Regions from separate parts of the Homo sapiens genome. Here regions 1, 2 and 4 are each linked to region 3. The links are contacts of gene promoters, found by promoter capture Hi-C in blood cells and fetal thymus (Javierre and others, 2016). All regions are on one chromosome and are shown on one strand. Each heading gives the region's core, a stretch centred on a gene start or on the middle of the fragment in contact. The rest is flanking DNA. Distances are from core to core; before and after follow the strand shown. Region 1 overlaps OGDH (oxoglutarate dehydrogenase). Region 2 has its middle 15 kb from the start of DDX56. Region 3 holds the start of PURB (purine rich element binding protein B). Region 4 has its middle 3.2 kb from the start of TMED4.

Region 1 (4,186 bases), core at 1,461-3,960, 260 kb after region 3:
GCGCACTGTAACCTCGAATTCCTGGGCTTCAGCAATCCTCCCACCTCAGCCTGTGGAGTAGCTAGAACTGCAGGCATGTGCCACCACACCTAGCTAAATTAAAAAAAAAAATTCGTAAGTGTCACTAATACTTAAAGGGAAAGCTTGTTTACAGGAGCCCAGTGGAAGCAGACTTCCTTTTGGTGATAAGCCCCCAAGATTCAAGAGTAGGAAAAAAGCCAAATTCACAGTGAAGATAAGCAATGTTGGCTAGGCACTGCCTCCGAGCTGAGTGCCCTGCTCATGCTACCTCCTTTCATTCTCTCAACCACCTACAGATGAGGCACAGGAGCTTAGAAACGCTGGGACCTACCCTCTTATTACTATACTACACTGTCTTCCCAATTCCTTCAGGAGGCTGGCTGCTTTCCCTGAAAATCAAGGAATGGTTATCAAAACCTATAAATATTTATTGGCTCAAAACAGAATAAAGGAATTCTGTCACAAGGCATGACATGGCCAGGCGTGGTTGATCATACCTGTAATCCCAGCACTTTGGGAGGCCAAGGTGGGTGGATCACTTGAGGCCAGGGGTTCAAGACCAGCCTGGCCAACAAAGTAAAATCCCATCTCTACTAAAAATACAAAAACTAGTCAGGCGTGGTGACGTGCACCTGTAGTCCCAGTTACTCGGGAGGCTGAGGCATAAGAATCACTTGAACCCAGGAGTCGGAGGTTGCAGCAAGCCGAGATCCCGCCACTGCACTCCAGCCTGGACAACAGTGGGACTCTGTCTGAAACAAAACAAAACAAACAAAAACAAAAACAAACCAAAAAAAACAAGACATGACTTACATCAGTAATCATGTGGTGAAAAGTTTAGAAAATGCCCTTATATGTAATACAGAGAAGTTAGAAACAAACAGGAAAAAAATACGAACATAATGAGCTAAAAGGCCATTCATACAGAAATTACATGAGGTGACTACGGCATGTTACAAATGAAAGTATCCTCTCCAGACAGTTAGAATGGAGGAGCTTCCTGAGGTCCTGCTCTTTTCCACACACTTTCTTTCTTTCTTCTTTCTTCAGCGGCTTCATCCTGAAGCAGCCCTTGCGGAGATGCTGGAGGGTCACACACATGCTTCTTCACATCCTCGCAGAGTTAAGCACAGTGTCTACTGCTGGACGCCAATCCAGGGACCATGGCTTCTGCTGGGGCTATGCTGGGTCCGATACAGATACGGTGGTTGGTATGGCGCTCCAGCTGCCTGTCTGCCCGCTGACTCCTCAGGACGCACACACTTACCTGGTGACCAGTCAGGAACAGGCCAACACACCAACATGAGGCAGACCCACAGCCCTGCGAGCCTTACCTTATGTACACTTTTGGGGTTTTCCAGCCAAGCACAGTACATCTCCTCCACATAGTTCGAACTAGTCCCACTGAGAAAGGGCTCAGCAGCAACAGGTGCAGAATAGCACCGAATCTGTTGAAATGTCCTAGCTGCTGCTGGTCTGTTTTGTGAAAATGTCTTAACAGTCTGGGAAGCCGTCAATGGCCTCAACTTAGCAGCACAAGTCCTTAAATGAAACATTTTTGTCCTGAAGTTTTTCACAACTGCCTGTACAAAAAAAAAAAAAAAAAAACAAGAAAGAAAGGTTTTAAAAATGAGTATTTAGGAGACAAGGCTACTAGATCCTGATGCTCTAGAGAAAGGATAATTTTTTTTTAAAAGCTACTAGAAAAACAAAAACAAAAACAAAACATGTTCAACTCTAATTGTTGAGGAGAAAGACCCTGGCCTATAAATGTATTCACAAGAGTGCTACCTGCTCAGTGCCACCAGTTCATGTGCCTGAGAGCACAACAGAGCTGTGACTGTGTGAAACTGAAACACACTCTTGCACCTACTAACACAGGATGCCTGTGCGAGCCCAAGGAAGGTGAGTGCACAGTTGCAGATATTACCATCTTCACTTAAAAATTTAAATCTAGGCCAGACTCGGTGGCTCACACCTGTAATCCCAGCACTTTGGGAGGCCAAGGCGGGTGGATCACGAGGTCAGGAGATCAAGACCATCCTGGCCAACATGGTGAAACCACATCTCTACTAAAAATACAAAAATTAGCTGGGTGTGGTGGTGCATGCCTGTAGACCCAGATACTTGGGAGGCTGAGGCAGGAGAATTGCTTGAACCTGGTAGGTGGAGGCTGCAGTGAGCCGAGATTGCACCACTGCACTCCAGCCTAGCAACAGAGTGAGACTCTGTCTCAAAACAAAACAAAACAAAAAACCATTAAATCTAGTTTAAGGGCTAAGATGATAAACATACGATGTTCTTTAAATTTACATATTACATATATATAAAACAATTAGAAGAAAGGCAACAAGGATTAATTAATTTAGAATTAGGATTAGGATTAATTGGAGAATAAGTAAAACATTTTCTAATCTGTCCAGAAACTACTGAGTACCTGCTGTACTTACAATATTATGGAAAATACAAAGAAATTAGAAAAATACTTTCCTTACTCTCAATTTACCCTTGAGCAGAGGAAAAACAACATAGAAAAGATTGCAGAGGAAATATGAGTACTTGAGAGGTGCAGAATATGCCAGCAGACCCTGTGAGAGGATGGGCTCCTTCCAAGTGGGTGTGCCTGAAGACAAAAGGACATGGATGGGAAGGAGGGAAGACGAGGCACTGCATGTGGAAGGACCCATAGGCAGAAACACAGAGACGGGAAGAGCCAGAATCTCATGGTACTACGAAGGGTAAGGAAAAGCCACAGAGGGTTGTCCAGTGTCCTGCCTGCCACCTTCTGCACTCAGCCCCCTTTCATAAGCCATGGGGAGCCAGGTCTGAGCAAGGGAGACGTGGGTGGGGTCTGCAAAGATTGAAAAGAGCACATGGAGCAGTTGTTCAATAATGCCTGCCTACCCTGGGCCCTCCATGGTGAGCAACTCTACGCATCTGACTCATACATAAACCCAGAGGCTCCCAATAAGGCAGGCACCAGCTCTTTCACTTTACAGATAGCTTCAGTTTCTATTCCCTTACATTTCATCCAAGGTCATAGGCTACTAACAGCAGAGTCAGGATCCAAGCGGAAAGTTCACAAGGACGCTGCCTGTGGAAAAAAAGGTGCTTGCTGGCCTACATGGTTGCTCATGAATTTGTCTCAAAGCAGGTGCTCTGGTTGTAAAGTTAGAACTACACTCCATGTCCACACCTACCCGAAGAAAATCCAAGCTCTGAAACATAGTGTGAATTACCCAGAAATAACTGTTACATAAAAATATCTTCTATATTATTTATCAGAAACTTCCTCTTGGCCCAAATATGCTCAGAATACACTTAAGGGACACCAAGAGAGAGGGCTTAGAGTGTCCTGCATTCACCTCTGGCCTGCTCCACTGAGAAGAGATAGGTCAGCAAAAGTAAACAGCAGAACATATTCTTTAAAAACAAACTGAACAACAAACAAAAACTTGCTCCTTACAAATTAAAGGTAAACAAGCAATATATTCTGGATATAATTAGGGAATGCAATCTTTACCCCTGGGTTTTCACTTTAGAAATCAAAAGTTTTAAGTTAATTCGGTAGTTCTTCCTACCTCCAACTACACTCCAAGTTTTTCCACTGATATATTTAAGGAAGACAAACAGCCCTAACATTGACAGCAAAAATACTACTGTTGCTTCATTTTATGCTATTTTTTTTTTAATTTCTCAGGCTCAAAGGAAAATGTTCATTTTTTTCCTTTAATGTCATTATTAAGGCAATATTAAATACCCAATTGCCTCTGAGTTGGGTTTTCTCCCAGAAAACAATAGCATCACCTCATTAACTATCAGTATTCAGTTGCTGCAATAGCCCAATTAACAGGCACTGAACTGACAATCGTAAAACACCAATTTCATCTGTTCTTCCCAAAGTGGCCCCTTCCACATGATCCTGTTTAAGTAAATCATGACATTTTGCTATCCGCAGTCACTGAATCTGACACATAGTTAAGTGCTGCCCAGCAGAGCTGCCACAACAGCTGGAGATTTTTTTTTTTTGATACGGAGTCTTGCTCTGTAGTCCAGGCTGGAGTGCAGTGGTGTGATCTCGGCTCAGTGCAACCTCCCATCCCAGGTTCAAGCAATTCCCCTGCCTCAGCCTCCCGAGTAGCTAGGACTACAGGTGCATGCCATC
Region 2 (3,972 bases), core at 923-3,422, 330 kb after region 3:
CAGGAAGCCCTCATCCTCGTCCTCCACGGGTCTCATGTTTGTCAAGGCCAGGGGTATCAGGCGTAGTAGGCAGGGGCCCATGCCTGCTCCCATCTGGGAGACCCTGCTTCAGGCCCCTCTCATGGCCCCTTTTGTTCCCCACAGCTCACTGTACAACTTGTTGGTTCAAGGTTAGAAAATGCAGTTTTGTGTTGAGGGGGACCATCACAGAAGACAAAGGGTCCAGGATGAAGGCTACCCATCAGCTTGCAGGGCTGGGACGAATGTGAGAAGCAACTGATGCTTGTACAGTAGAGAGTAAGCATGTAGGGCCAGTCCCCAGACCTTGCCTCCCCTCAGCCTTGACATGTGATCTCCATTTCTGGTGGCTACCCCTGCTAGTGGTCTGGCTTCACCATCTTAGCCCTGCCCAGGCTAAGACCCTCTTCCATCAGAACCTGCAGCTGGGATGCTGGGAGCAACAGTCAGGGCAGAGCTGCCCATCCTCCCATTCAGGGAGCCCTCAGGAAGTACTTGGGACCCCCCGACCCTTTATAGATTCAGCCTGCCTCATCCCCTCCATGGACCAACACGCCCTTCTCCTCAGCAGTGGGCTGGGGGACCAGGCTCCTGAACTGCTTGTGGCTGTTCCAGCAGTGGGGAGATGGAGGGTCACACAGTCCTGAGTCTATGGCTTTGACAGCAACGGGTCCTGACTGCAGCTGTATTCGTGAAGCGAAGTACCTAATACAATCACCGAAATGTACAAATTGGACCCCTATAGGTTCAAGGATTCTTGGTGTAGGAGGTATGGCCCCCGCCCCGGGAACCAGGACCTCAGCTTTTAGAAGCAAAATGCATGAATGCAGTGATGGTTAGGCCAAGTGCCAAGGGAGACAGCCAACCCCTGCTATCATGGCCAGAGGAGGGAGAGACCACTCAGGCCTGGGTGGTGGTAGAAATCCTCACTGCCAAGGAGATTGTATGCGCAGGCGTTGGGAAGGCCCGGAGAAGCCTGAGAGACAGGCTTGGCTTGGTTATAGCAGAGCTGGGTGGAGGGAGCAGATTAGTTGGCTTAGCACAGGCTTCCTGCAGGGTGGTGGTTCTTGGCCAGATTTGCCCCAGTGGGGCTTTTGGGAAAGTATAGAAATATTGTTGTTTTTTTTTTTTTGAGACAGAGTCTTGCTCCGTTGCCCAGGCTGGAGTGCAGTGGTGTGTTCTTGGCTCACTACAACCTCCATCCACCTCCCGGGTTCAAGTGATTCTCCTGCCTCAGCCTGCCAAGTAGTTGGGACTACAGGCATGTGCCACCACACCCAGCTAATCTTTGTATTTTTAGGAGATGGGGTTTCACCATGTTGGCCAGGCTGGTCATGAACTCCTAACCTCAAGTGATCTGCCCGCCTCAGCCTCCCAAAGTGCTGGGATTACAGGTGTGAGCCACTGTGCCAGCCAAGAAACATTTTAGGTTATCATATCTGGGCAATGGATGCTACTGGCTTTAGGTGGGAAGAGGCCGGGGATACTGTTAAAATCATGCAATGTACAAGGCAGCCCCCACAAGAGAGTTCTGTGGTTGAAAATGTCCGTAGTGTTGAGGTTGAGGACTCTGCTGTGGGGCAACAGTAGGAGAAGGGGTGCTAATAGTCAGGTGGTGGACAGCAGGGAATTACAGGTACATCAGTTAGGAGTGTATACAGCTGCAAGTAAGAGACCACCAGATGGCAGGAACAGTGGGAACAGAATGGTTTATCTTTTTCATGTGTCAAGATAAGTGGTGCTAAAGTCAGGCATGGTGGCCCTCACTTATAATCCCAGCAATTCAGGAGGCTGAAGAGTGAGGATCACTTGAGGCCAGGAGTTCAAGACCAGCCTGGGCAACACAGTGAAATGCCATCTCTAAAAATAAAAATTAAAAAAATTAGCCAGGGGCTGGGTGCAGTGGCTCACGCCTGTAATCCCAGCACTTTGGGAGGCTAAGGCGGGTGGATCACCTGAGGTCAGGAGTTCGAGACCAGCCTGGCCAACATGGTGAAACCCTGTCTCTACTAAAAATATAAAATTAGCTGGGCATGGTGGCACACCTGTAATTCTACTTACTCGGGAGGCTGAGGCAAGGGAATCACTTAGAACTGGGGAGGCGTAAGTTGCAGTGAGCTGAGTCACGCCATTGCACTCCAGCCTGGGCGACAGATCAAGACCCTGTCAAGGAAAGGAAAGGAGAGGGGAGGGGAGGGGAGGGGGGAGGGGGGAGGGGGGAGGAGAAGGAGGGAGGGGGAAGATTAGCTAGGCATGGTGATGAGCACCTGTAGTCCCTCCTAGCTACTCCGAAGGCTACGGTGGGAGAACTGCTTGAGCCTGGGAGGTCAAGGCTGCAGTTAGTGATGATCGTGTCACTGCACTCCAGCCTGGGTGAAAAAGTGAGACCCTGTCTCAAAAAGAAAAAAGACAGATAGGAAGAAAGAAAGAAGAAAAGAAAGAAAAAGAGAGAGAGAGAGAGAGGGAGGGAGGGAGGGAAAGGAAAGGAAGGAAGGAAATGCATCTGATTTTTGTGTATTGATTTTGTATCCTATAATTTTGCCAAGTTCATTTATTAGTTCTAGTAATTTTTTTTATTAAAAAAAATTTTCAAGATAGGGTCTCACCCTGTTGTCTAGGCTGGAGTGCAGTGGCACGGTTATAGCTCACTGCAGTCTCCATTGCCAGGACTCAAACAGTCCTCCTGCCTCAGCCTCCTGAATAGCTGGGACTACAGGCATGCCAGCATGCCTGGCTAATTATTTTATTTTTTGTAGAGATGGGGTCTCACGTTGTTGCCCAGGCTGGTCTTAAACTCCTGGGCTCAAGTGATTGTCCTGCCTCAGTCTCCCAAAGTGCTGGGATTATAGGCATGCTCCACCACACTCAGACAAGTTATAATACATTTTCAGTGGCGTATTTACTGTTTTAGAATATAAAATCTATCTGCAAATAGAGATAAGTTTAATTTTTTTCTAATTTGGACACTCTTTTCCTTCCTCCCTCCCCTTCCCCTTTCCCTTCCCCTTCCCTTTTCCCTCCCTCCCTCTCTCCCTCTCTTTCTCTCTCTCTCTTTCTCTCTTTTCTCTTTTCTTTTCATTTCATTTTTGCCAAATTGCTCTGGTTAGAACTTTTAACACTATGTTGAATAGAAGTGGTGACAGTATCTCATTCCTAGACACTTTTCGAAAGAAGACATACATGCAACCAACAAACATTTGAAAAAAAACTCAATATCACTGATCATTAAAGAAACAGAAATCAAAACCACAATGAGATACCATCTCACATCAGCCAGAATGGCTATTATTAAAAAGTAAAAAAAAGAAAAAATAACATGCTGGCAAGGTCATAGAGAAAAGGGAACACTTGTACAGTGTTGGTGGGAGTGTAAATTAGGTCAACCATTGTGGAAAGCAGCGTGGCAATTCCTCAGAGACCTAAAGGCAGAACTACCATTCGACCCAGCAATCCCATTACTGGGTATATACCCAAAGGAATGTAAGTTGTTCTGCCATAAGGACACATGCACACGTCTGTTCATTGCAGCACTATTCACAATAGTAAAGACATGGAATCAACCTAAATGCCCATCAATGACAGATTGGATAAAGAAAATGTACATATATGTCATGGAATACTATTCAGACATAAAAAAAGACATGTGATTATGTCCTTTGCAGGAACATGGATGGAGCTGGAGGCCATTATCCTTAGCAAACTAACGCAGGAACAGAAAACAAAATACCACATATTCTCACTTATATTCTCTCACTAAATGATGAGAACTCATAGGCACTAAGAGGGGAACGACAGATGCTGGAACCCAGTGGAGGGTGGGAGGAGGGAGAGGAGCAGGAAAAATAACTATTGGGTACTAGACTTAGTACCTGGGCGAGAAAATAATCTGTACAACAAACCCCCGTGACACAAGTTTACCTATATAACAAACCTGCATATGTACAACTTAATGTA
Region 3 (4,017 bases), core at 501-3,000:
GAGGCAGAGGTTGCAGTGAGCCAAGATTGTTCCACTGCACCCCAACCTGGGCAACAGAGCAAGACTGCTCAAAAAAAAAAAAAAAGTGGAAATGTTGGGTCTTATTTTATGAAAGGTATATAAGAAACTGCCAAACTGTTTCCCAAAGCATTTATACCATTTTATATCCTTACTAGCAATGTATGAGTTCCAGTTTCTTCACATCCTTCTCAACACTTGATGTTACATTTTTTAATTTTAGCCATTCTAGTTGGTATTTCATTCTGACTTTAATTTATATTTCCCTAATGATGAATAATGTTGAGCACTGTTTCATGTGCTTACTGGCTTTTTTGACGAAGTGTCTGTTAAAATCTTTCACCTTTTATATTGGGTTATCTATTATTTGTGTTCTTTACAAGTCCATTGTTGGATTCACTATCTATGAATAACTACATTTAGGCTGGGTGTGGTGGCTCACATCTGTAATCCCAGCACTTTGGGAGGCTGAGGCGGGCAGATCACCTGAGGTCAGGAGTTCAAGACCAGCCTGGCCAACATTGTGGAACCCCATCTCTACTAAAAATACAAAAATTAGCCGGGTGTGGTGGCGGTTGCCTGTAATCCCAGCTACTCAGGAGGCTGAGGTAGGAGAATTGCTTGAACCCGGGAGGTGGAGGGTGTAATGAGCTAAAATCACGCCACTGCACTCCAGCCTGGGTGACAGAGCAAGACTCAAAAAAAAAAAAAAAAAAATTTAAGGATGAGGACATTTTGGCTTTGGAAAATCAAGTAACTGGTCAAGGTCACAGATTCAAACCCAGTGCAGTTGCAGAGCCTACACTTTTTAACACTATTCCAATTCTGCCTCTTGTTACACCTCAATGCTTACAACAAAAAGACCTCATAGGAATTATTCATTTTATTGATAAAGAAACTAAAGATTGGCAGTCAATTTCCTTAACCACTTTAATATGGCTAACTGTGGGGACAGTTAACTGATCTCTGGATCCCAAATCTAACCTCATCCTAAATCATCTTCTTTCTATATTGTTCCCACAGTGATCTTTCCAAAATGTGAACCTGATCACATACGGTGGCTCCAGACTCTGGGGTAGGCACTAACTCTCCCGCACTGCAAATGGCTTTCCTTGATCTAATCCACCCTCCAGTGTCATCTACGACCATTCTTCAGGCATACACACCCCCAGCTGCTCTGAGCTCCCAGCATCAGGCCCTGGGTGCCTCTGCACTGCCGTCTCCTATGCTGGGTGGCTCTTCTCCAGAGTTGCCAGGCCAACTGCAGTTTGCCCTTCAGAGTCAGCTCATGCCTCCTCTAGGGAACCCCACAGGCTGGTCAGAACCCGCTTCCGAGTGCTCCAAAGGATCTCCCTCCCCCCGGTCGCCAGTGTATAGACTGGAACTCTGTTCCCAGCACACAACCAGCGCGAGCAGGCTGGGGCCTGAGTATGCTCAGCTAACGCCCCGGAAGCGAGAAGGAGGGAAGTGGACGACACCGGAGTCTAAAGTAAAAGTGTCACGGGAAGAGGCGCGTAGACAGACGCAGCGGGCGGCTGAGTCACGCTAAGGCTGGCAAGTCCCCAGGGCTAGAAACCGAGCAGTAACACTAGCCTACTCTCAGCTTGCCGCCCGCCCGGCGCGGCCCCTGACGTCACCCCTCTGCGCCACGCCGCCGCGGCGCTTCCGGCCGCGAGGCCGCGGAGGGCGGGACGGAGTGACTTCACGGGAAATCGCGCGCCGGAAGTGGCTAGGGCTGCACGGAAGTCGCGGGGGCGGGGCGCGGAGGCGATGGGGGGGCGGCGGCGGCCGGCGATGAGCGGCGGGAGCGCGTGAGCGAGCCGGGCGGGCGAGGCTGGGGGGCCCCGGAGCGCGAGCCGGAGGGCGGGGGCGCGAGCGCGGCGGGCGGTGGCGGCGAGGCGGCGGCCTAGAAGATGGCGGACGGCGACAGCGGCAGCGAGCGCGGCGGCGGCGGTGGGCCGTGCGGGTTCCAGCCCGCGTCCCGCGGCGGCGGCGAGCAAGAGACGCAGGAGCTGGCCTCGAAGCGGCTGGACATCCAGAACAAGCGCTTCTACTTAGATGTGAAGCAGAACGCCAAGGGCCGCTTCCTCAAGATCGCCGAGGTGGGCGCGGGCGGTTCCAAGAGCCGCCTCACGCTGTCCATGGCGGTGGCCGCCGAGTTCCGCGACTCGCTGGGCGACTTCATAGAACACTACGCGCAGCTGGGCCCTAGCAGCCCCGAGCAGCTGGCGGCTGGCGCCGAGGAGGGCGGCGGGCCGCGGCGCGCGCTCAAGAGCGAATTCTTGGTGCGTGAGAACCGCAAGTACTACCTGGACCTCAAGGAGAACCAGCGCGGCCGCTTCCTGCGCATCCGCCAAACGGTCAACCGCGGCGGTGGCGGCTTCGGCGCGGGCCCCGGGCCGGGCGGCTTGCAGAGCGGCCAGACCATCGCGCTGCCTGCGCAGGGCCTCATCGAGTTCCGCGACGCGCTGGCGAAGCTCATAGACGACTACGGAGGCGAGGACGACGAGCTGGCAGGCGGCCCGGGAGGCGGCGCCGGGGGCCCAGGGGGCGGCCTGTATGGAGAGCTCCCGGAGGGCACCTCCATCACCGTGGACTCCAAGCGCTTCTTCTTCGATGTGGGCTGCAACAAATACGGGGTGTTTCTGCGAGTGAGCGAGGTGAAGCCGTCCTACCGCAATGCCATCACCGTACCCTTCAAAGCCTGGGGCAAGTTCGGAGGCGCCTTTTGCCGGTATGCGGATGAGATGAAAGAAATCCAGGAACGACAGAGGGATAAGCTTTATGAGCGACGTGGTGGGGGCAGCGGCGGCGGCGAAGAGTCAGAGGGTGAGGAGGTGGATGAGGATTGAAACGGGCAGCTTCCCCTACAGGCCTCCACCCAACCACCATCCCCTTGGCTAGAGAATTCCCTTTCCTGCTCATCCCCAGTGAGCTAGTGGAGAGGGAGCAAGGGAGGCCGCAGAGGGAAAAAACAAAACGTAACACAGTTAAGAGAAATAATCGTAAGAGAACAGTGACGGACAACTTGAGAAAAGCAGTCAAGTTCCAAGGAACTGACAGCAACCTGCAAAGAGGAAAACAGCATCTCCTCACCTGCGTAAAATTGTCTCAGCTTCTGTTGTTTCTCAACTGAGGTTCGTAAACCCATCAGGATAATCCCTGGAGGGAATAGATCCTTGCACATCCAGGGCAAGAAACATGTCCAAGTTACCCAGACCATTGATAACAGTTGCATTTAGGTTGCACCTGGGTAATCTGGCATAAAAGATCTCTCTAGGCCTCACTGTTGCGGTGTCTATCCCTTCACCTCCATTGAAATCAGCATTTTGGATCTAGGTCTTCATGGAATCCTTGAGAAGAGAGGCCTTTACAATTACCCAGTTCTGAGGGTTCAGGTTCACGAAAAGAAATGCAACTTGGGATAATCATGAACAGGTTAAAGATAAGATTTCAAGAAGCCATCTAAGAATACAGAACCAAATTGGATCCATTTTTTTAAAAAAATGGTTTTGCATGGAACCTGGACCAAGGCAAATGTCTTTTCTTCGCAGAATTGTTTTCCAGGATGCCAGTGGATTCAGATAGCAATGCTTGGAGTAGAATCCGTTACTAAAATAGTTTCAAAGTTGACAAAAAATTTTCAAAGATAAAAGCAGTTTTACATTGGGGGTTGCTGAGGTAGGCACAAGAAAAAGTCAGGCATAAAGCACAAGGCAGACTGTTTGAGTGGATTGGTTGCTGCTCACTAAAGTTGTTCCCCTGATCTCTAAATATGGAGGTCATTACCAAGAAATGCTTTGGTATGAATGAGAGCCAGATCTCCACTGTGTGAGCCAGTGAATTATGGCTAATTCGGCTGTTACAGCCACTGGTTGGCTGGATTTTAAACCATAAAACTTGAAGATTACCTACAAAAGTAACAGTGTGGCTATAAGCCTGAGCTTTAATGGATATACATCCTCACAGAAAAGTTGGAAATAACCAAAACTGAAGTCT
Region 4 (4,045 bases), core at 790-3,289, 300 kb after region 3:
GCTAATTTTTTTGTATTTTTTTAGTAGAGACGGGGTTTCACCATGTTAGCTAGGATGGTCTTGATCTCCTGACCTCGTGATCCCCCTGCCTCAGCCTCCCAAAGTGTCGGGATTACAGGCGTGAGCCACTGCGCCTGGCCTAAGTCCACTATACTTTCTTCTTCCCTGCCTTATTTTTATTCTTGATACTTATCTCCATCTGACATGCTCTATATTTCTTTATTTATCTTGTTTGGCAGACGACAATCAAGATAAAGCCATGGAGACAAGGATTTTTGTTGCTGTTGTTCTTGTTTTTTGAGACAGAGCCTCACTCTCACCCAGGCCTAGAGTGCAGTGGCACAATCTCGGTTCACTGCAACCTCTGCCTCCCAGGCTGAAGTGATCCTCCCACCTCAGCCTCCAGAGAAGCTGGGACTACAGGTGCTTGCCACATGCCTGGCTAATTTTTTGTATTTTTGGTAGAGACGGGGTTTTGCCATGTTGTCCAGGCTAGTCTTGAACTTCTGAGTTCAGATGATCCACCCAAAGTGCTGGGATTACATGCGTGAGCCACTGCGCCTGGCCTAGACAAGGATTTTTGTTTTGGTCACCTGTGTTTTCCCATTAGAACAGTGGCTGGCACAAATGGCTGCACAGCACATACTGGTTGAACAAATGAAGGACGGGGTGGCTGGTCTAGACAAAGAGCCTAGACAAACATCGGCAGAAATTGCTTCATGGCTTCTGAGCAGAAAAATCTCTCATCTGGGGAATTAGACTCCCTAAGTTAAATTTTCTTTCTTTTTTGGAGATGGGGTCTCACTCTGTTGCCCAGGCTGGAGTGCAGCAGCACCATCACAGCTCACTGCAGCCTCAACCTCCTGGGGGTCAAGCAATCCTCCCACCTCAGCCTCCCGAGTAGTTGGGACTACAGGCCCATGCCACCATGCCCAGCTAATTTTTTTTTTGGTAGAGACAGGGTGTCACCATGTAGCCCAGACTGGTCTTGAACTTCTGGACTCAAGCGATCTTCCTGCCTCGGCCTCCCAAATGCTGGGATTACAGGCATGAGCCACAGTGCCTCACCTCCTAAGTTAAATTTTCTGCAGTGGAGAATACAATCTCTTTAATATTATCTCTCAGTTAAGACAAATTTCAGGATCCTCCTTAAAAAAAAAAAAAAAAAGAAAGAAAATAAGTTTGCCAATACAAATACCATTTCTCACTAAAGTGAATTAGGGTTCCTTGGAGAAATGGTTGGTTTTGTTTCTGGGCAGTAAATGTATAAAACGGAAAGCAAGGAAGTCCAGGGTGTCCAATCTTTTGGCTTTCCTGGGCCACACTGGAAGAAGAAGAATTGTCTTGGGCCACACATAAAATACACTAACAATAGCTGATGAGCTAAAAAAAAAAAAATCTCATAATGTTTTTAGAAAGTTTATGAATTTGTGTTGGGCTGCATGGGCCACAGGTTGGACAAGCTTGACCTAAAGACTACTAGGATTGTGGATTACTAGGATTGTGCCAGAAGGACACAGCAGCAACTAAATATTTGATGAGACAATCTGAACATTTAAAAAAGGACAATGACTGTAATGGATTAAAGCACATCAAATATCTAAACATCCATCAATTCATGATAGCACTGCCCCTTCTCCCCAAAGAACCCAAAGTGGTCACAGTTAGAGGTTGCTGGGGCATCCATCCATCCATCTTTATTATTATTACTATTATTTGAGACAAGGTCTCACTCAGTCACCCATGCTAGAGTGCTGTCGTCCCATCACGGCTCACTGTATCCTCAACCTCCTGGGCTCCAGCCATTTCCCTGCCTCAGCCTCCTAAGTAGCGGGAATTACAGGCATGCATCACCATGCCTGTCTAATTTTTACATATTTTGTAAAGATCTTGCCATTTCCTGGGCTCAAGCAGTCCTCCTGTCTTGGCCCCCCAAAGTGCTGGGATTATAGGCAGAGCCACTGTGCGTGGGAAAGCATCAAGCATACATCCTGGCTATCCCGAATGGATTGTATTTCAAAGTAACCAGAGAGATGAGGGAATGCTCACCTTTGTAGAAGAATCTCATCTTATAAATGCAGGAGAAATGAGAGCATTTGAAATTACCACTTTGCACACCTAAGGAACATCATAAAACTACACTAGGGTTTCTCAACCTGGGTACTACTGACATTTTGAGCTGGATAATTCTTCGCTGTGGGGGGGAGGTGTGCTCTGTGAATTATACAATGTTTAGCAGTATTCCTTGCATTCATTTTCTAGATAACAGCAGTACCACCCGCCACCCCCCACCCAGTTGCAACAATCCAAAATATCTCCAGACATTGCCAAATTTCCCCTTGGTAGGACAGGGCAGAATCAACCCTCGTTGAGAACCAATGGTCTAATGATCATCAACGTTTGCTAGACTATTAGAAGAAAGGCTGATGGTAAACTTCATGGATAATCAGGATGACAACCCCCAAATTGAGAGATGAATTACAATATTACTAAGAGACAAACCCGCCTTGTGCCTCAGTAGAAGTACATAGTGCCAGCCACGAAGCGTTATTGCAAACAAAACAAAACAAAAAAACCCAAACCTCAACATTACACCTAAACCTAATGAAGCTTCTAGCCAGGGGCAAATCCAAGCTTTGTGGGGCCTTAAACTATACAAATTTCACAGTCCTCTTTAAGAAAAAGACACAAAATTATAAATGCGAAATTAGGTACGGGGGTCTATGCAAGGGAGGGCCTGAAGATTAAGCTTCATTAGTTTCACTGTAAACCTCCCCTGACTCTAGAATTAACTGTGATTACAGGACATACCAGGGACAAAAAACGTTAAATGACACCTGAAGATACAATCAGCAAAACCCAGAAAGTGGAAAATTCTGTTGGTCAAATGACCCAGTTTCTTCAATAAGTAAATGCCATGAATAACAAACAACAAAAAGAGAGGGGAAATTTATATATATAATATATATATAATATGTATAATATATATATATGTTGTTATATGGTTTGTTTTTTTTTTTTTGGACACGAGTCTCTCTCTCACCCAGGCTGGAGTGCAGTGGCATGATCTCGGCTCACTGCAACCTCTGCCTCCTGGGTTCAAGCGATTCTTCTGCCTCAGTCTCCCAAGTAGCTGGGACTACAGGTGAGCACCACCACACCCAGCTAATTTTTGTATTTTTGGTAGAGGTAGGGTTTCACCATATTGGCCAGGCTGGTCTCGAACTCCTGACCTCGTGATCTGCCCACCTTGGCCTCCCAAAGTGCTGGGATTACAGGTGTGAGCCACTGCGCCCGGCCCTGTTTTTGTTTGTTTTGAGATAGAATCTCACTCTGTTGCCTAGGCTGGAGTACAGTGGCATCATCTCAGCCCACTGCAACCTCCACCTCCCTGATTCTAGCAATTCTCCTGCCTCAGCCTCCCAAGTAGCTGAGATTACAGGTGTGCACCACCACACCTGGCTAATTTTTGTATTTTTAGTAGAAACAGGGTTTCACCATGTTGGCCAGGCTGGTCTCAAACTCCTGACCTCAAGTGATCCTTCCACCTCAGCCTCCCAAAGTGCTGGGATTACAGGCATGAGCCACTGTGCCCAGCCAAAATTGTTATATATTAAGAGACATATATTTGTATGAAATGCAGTAAGTAAACCTTGTTTGGACCCTAAATATCTAATGTACAAAATTTTTTAAGGCAATGGGGAAAATTAAACACATACTAGGTATTAAGTGATGTTAAATAATTTTTAAAATTTTGGTGGGTGTGATAATAGTATAAAGTCCTTATCTGTTAGAGACACACACTGACGTATTTATAGGTGAAATGACATGATGTCCAGGATTTGCTTTAATATACAGCACTTCAAAAAAAAATGCAGAAAGGGATACATGAAATGAGAAAGGCAGCAAACTGTTGTTGAAGTTGGATGATGAGTACAGCCCTCCGTTATTATCCAAGGGGGATAATTCCTGGACCCCTACGGATACCAAAATCCAGGTATGCTCAAGTTCTTTATGAAAGTTCATTGTAATTATTCTATTATAT

Evidence for each region. Contacts are between HindIII fragments. The CHiCAGO score rates a contact against its expected background, and 5 or more counts as called.
Region 1: a fragment that was not itself captured here is called in contact with the fragment with the promoter of PURB in region 3 in 7 of 17 cell types (monocytes, total CD8 T cells, fetal thymus and 4 more); the score reaches 9.8 in monocytes.
Region 2: a contact is called between a fragment that was not itself captured here and the fragment with the promoter of PURB in region 3, in 6 of 17 cell types (monocytes, total B cells, non-activated CD4 T cells and 3 more). The highest score is 10.7, in monocytes.
Region 4: a contact is called between a fragment that was not itself captured here and the fragment with the promoter of PURB in region 3, in 17 of 17 cell types (total CD8 T cells, naive CD4 T cells, naive B cells and 14 more). The highest score is 30.1, in total CD8 T cells.

The regions. Positions count from the first base shown.
Region 1 is chr7:44,621,735-44,625,920 of GRCh38, reverse strand. OGDH (oxoglutarate dehydrogenase) reads right to left here. Exons shown (of 23, transcript NM_002541.4): 2 at 1,356-1,604. The coding sequence starts at 1,577. Among named protein-coding and RNA genes, the nearest start is that of OGDH, 17 kb to the right of the region's middle. RefSeq lists a silencer at 1,739-1,798 and an enhancer at 2,957-3,266. The HindIII fragment of the contact is 5,130 bases long and covers 146-4,186 here.
Region 2 is chr7:44,556,722-44,560,693 of GRCh38, reverse strand. No RefSeq gene overlaps it. Among named protein-coding and RNA genes, the nearest start is that of DDX56, 15 kb to the left of the region's middle. The HindIII fragment of the contact is 4,749 bases long and covers 1-3,972 here.
Region 3 is chr7:44,883,263-44,887,279 of GRCh38, reverse strand. PURB (purine rich element binding protein B) reads left to right here and starts at 1,750. Exons shown (of 1, transcript NM_033224.5): 1 at 1,750-4,017. The coding sequence starts at 1,932. The coding sequence ends at 2,870. RefSeq lists enhancers at 1,321-1,570, 1,719-2,678 and silencers at 1,561-1,920, 2,211-2,260. The HindIII fragment of the contact is 4,558 bases long and covers 1-2,800 here.
Region 4 is chr7:44,583,443-44,587,487 of GRCh38, reverse strand. No RefSeq gene overlaps it. Among named protein-coding and RNA genes, the nearest start is that of TMED4, 3.2 kb to the right of the region's middle. The HindIII fragment of the contact is 1,147 bases long and covers 1,466-2,612 here.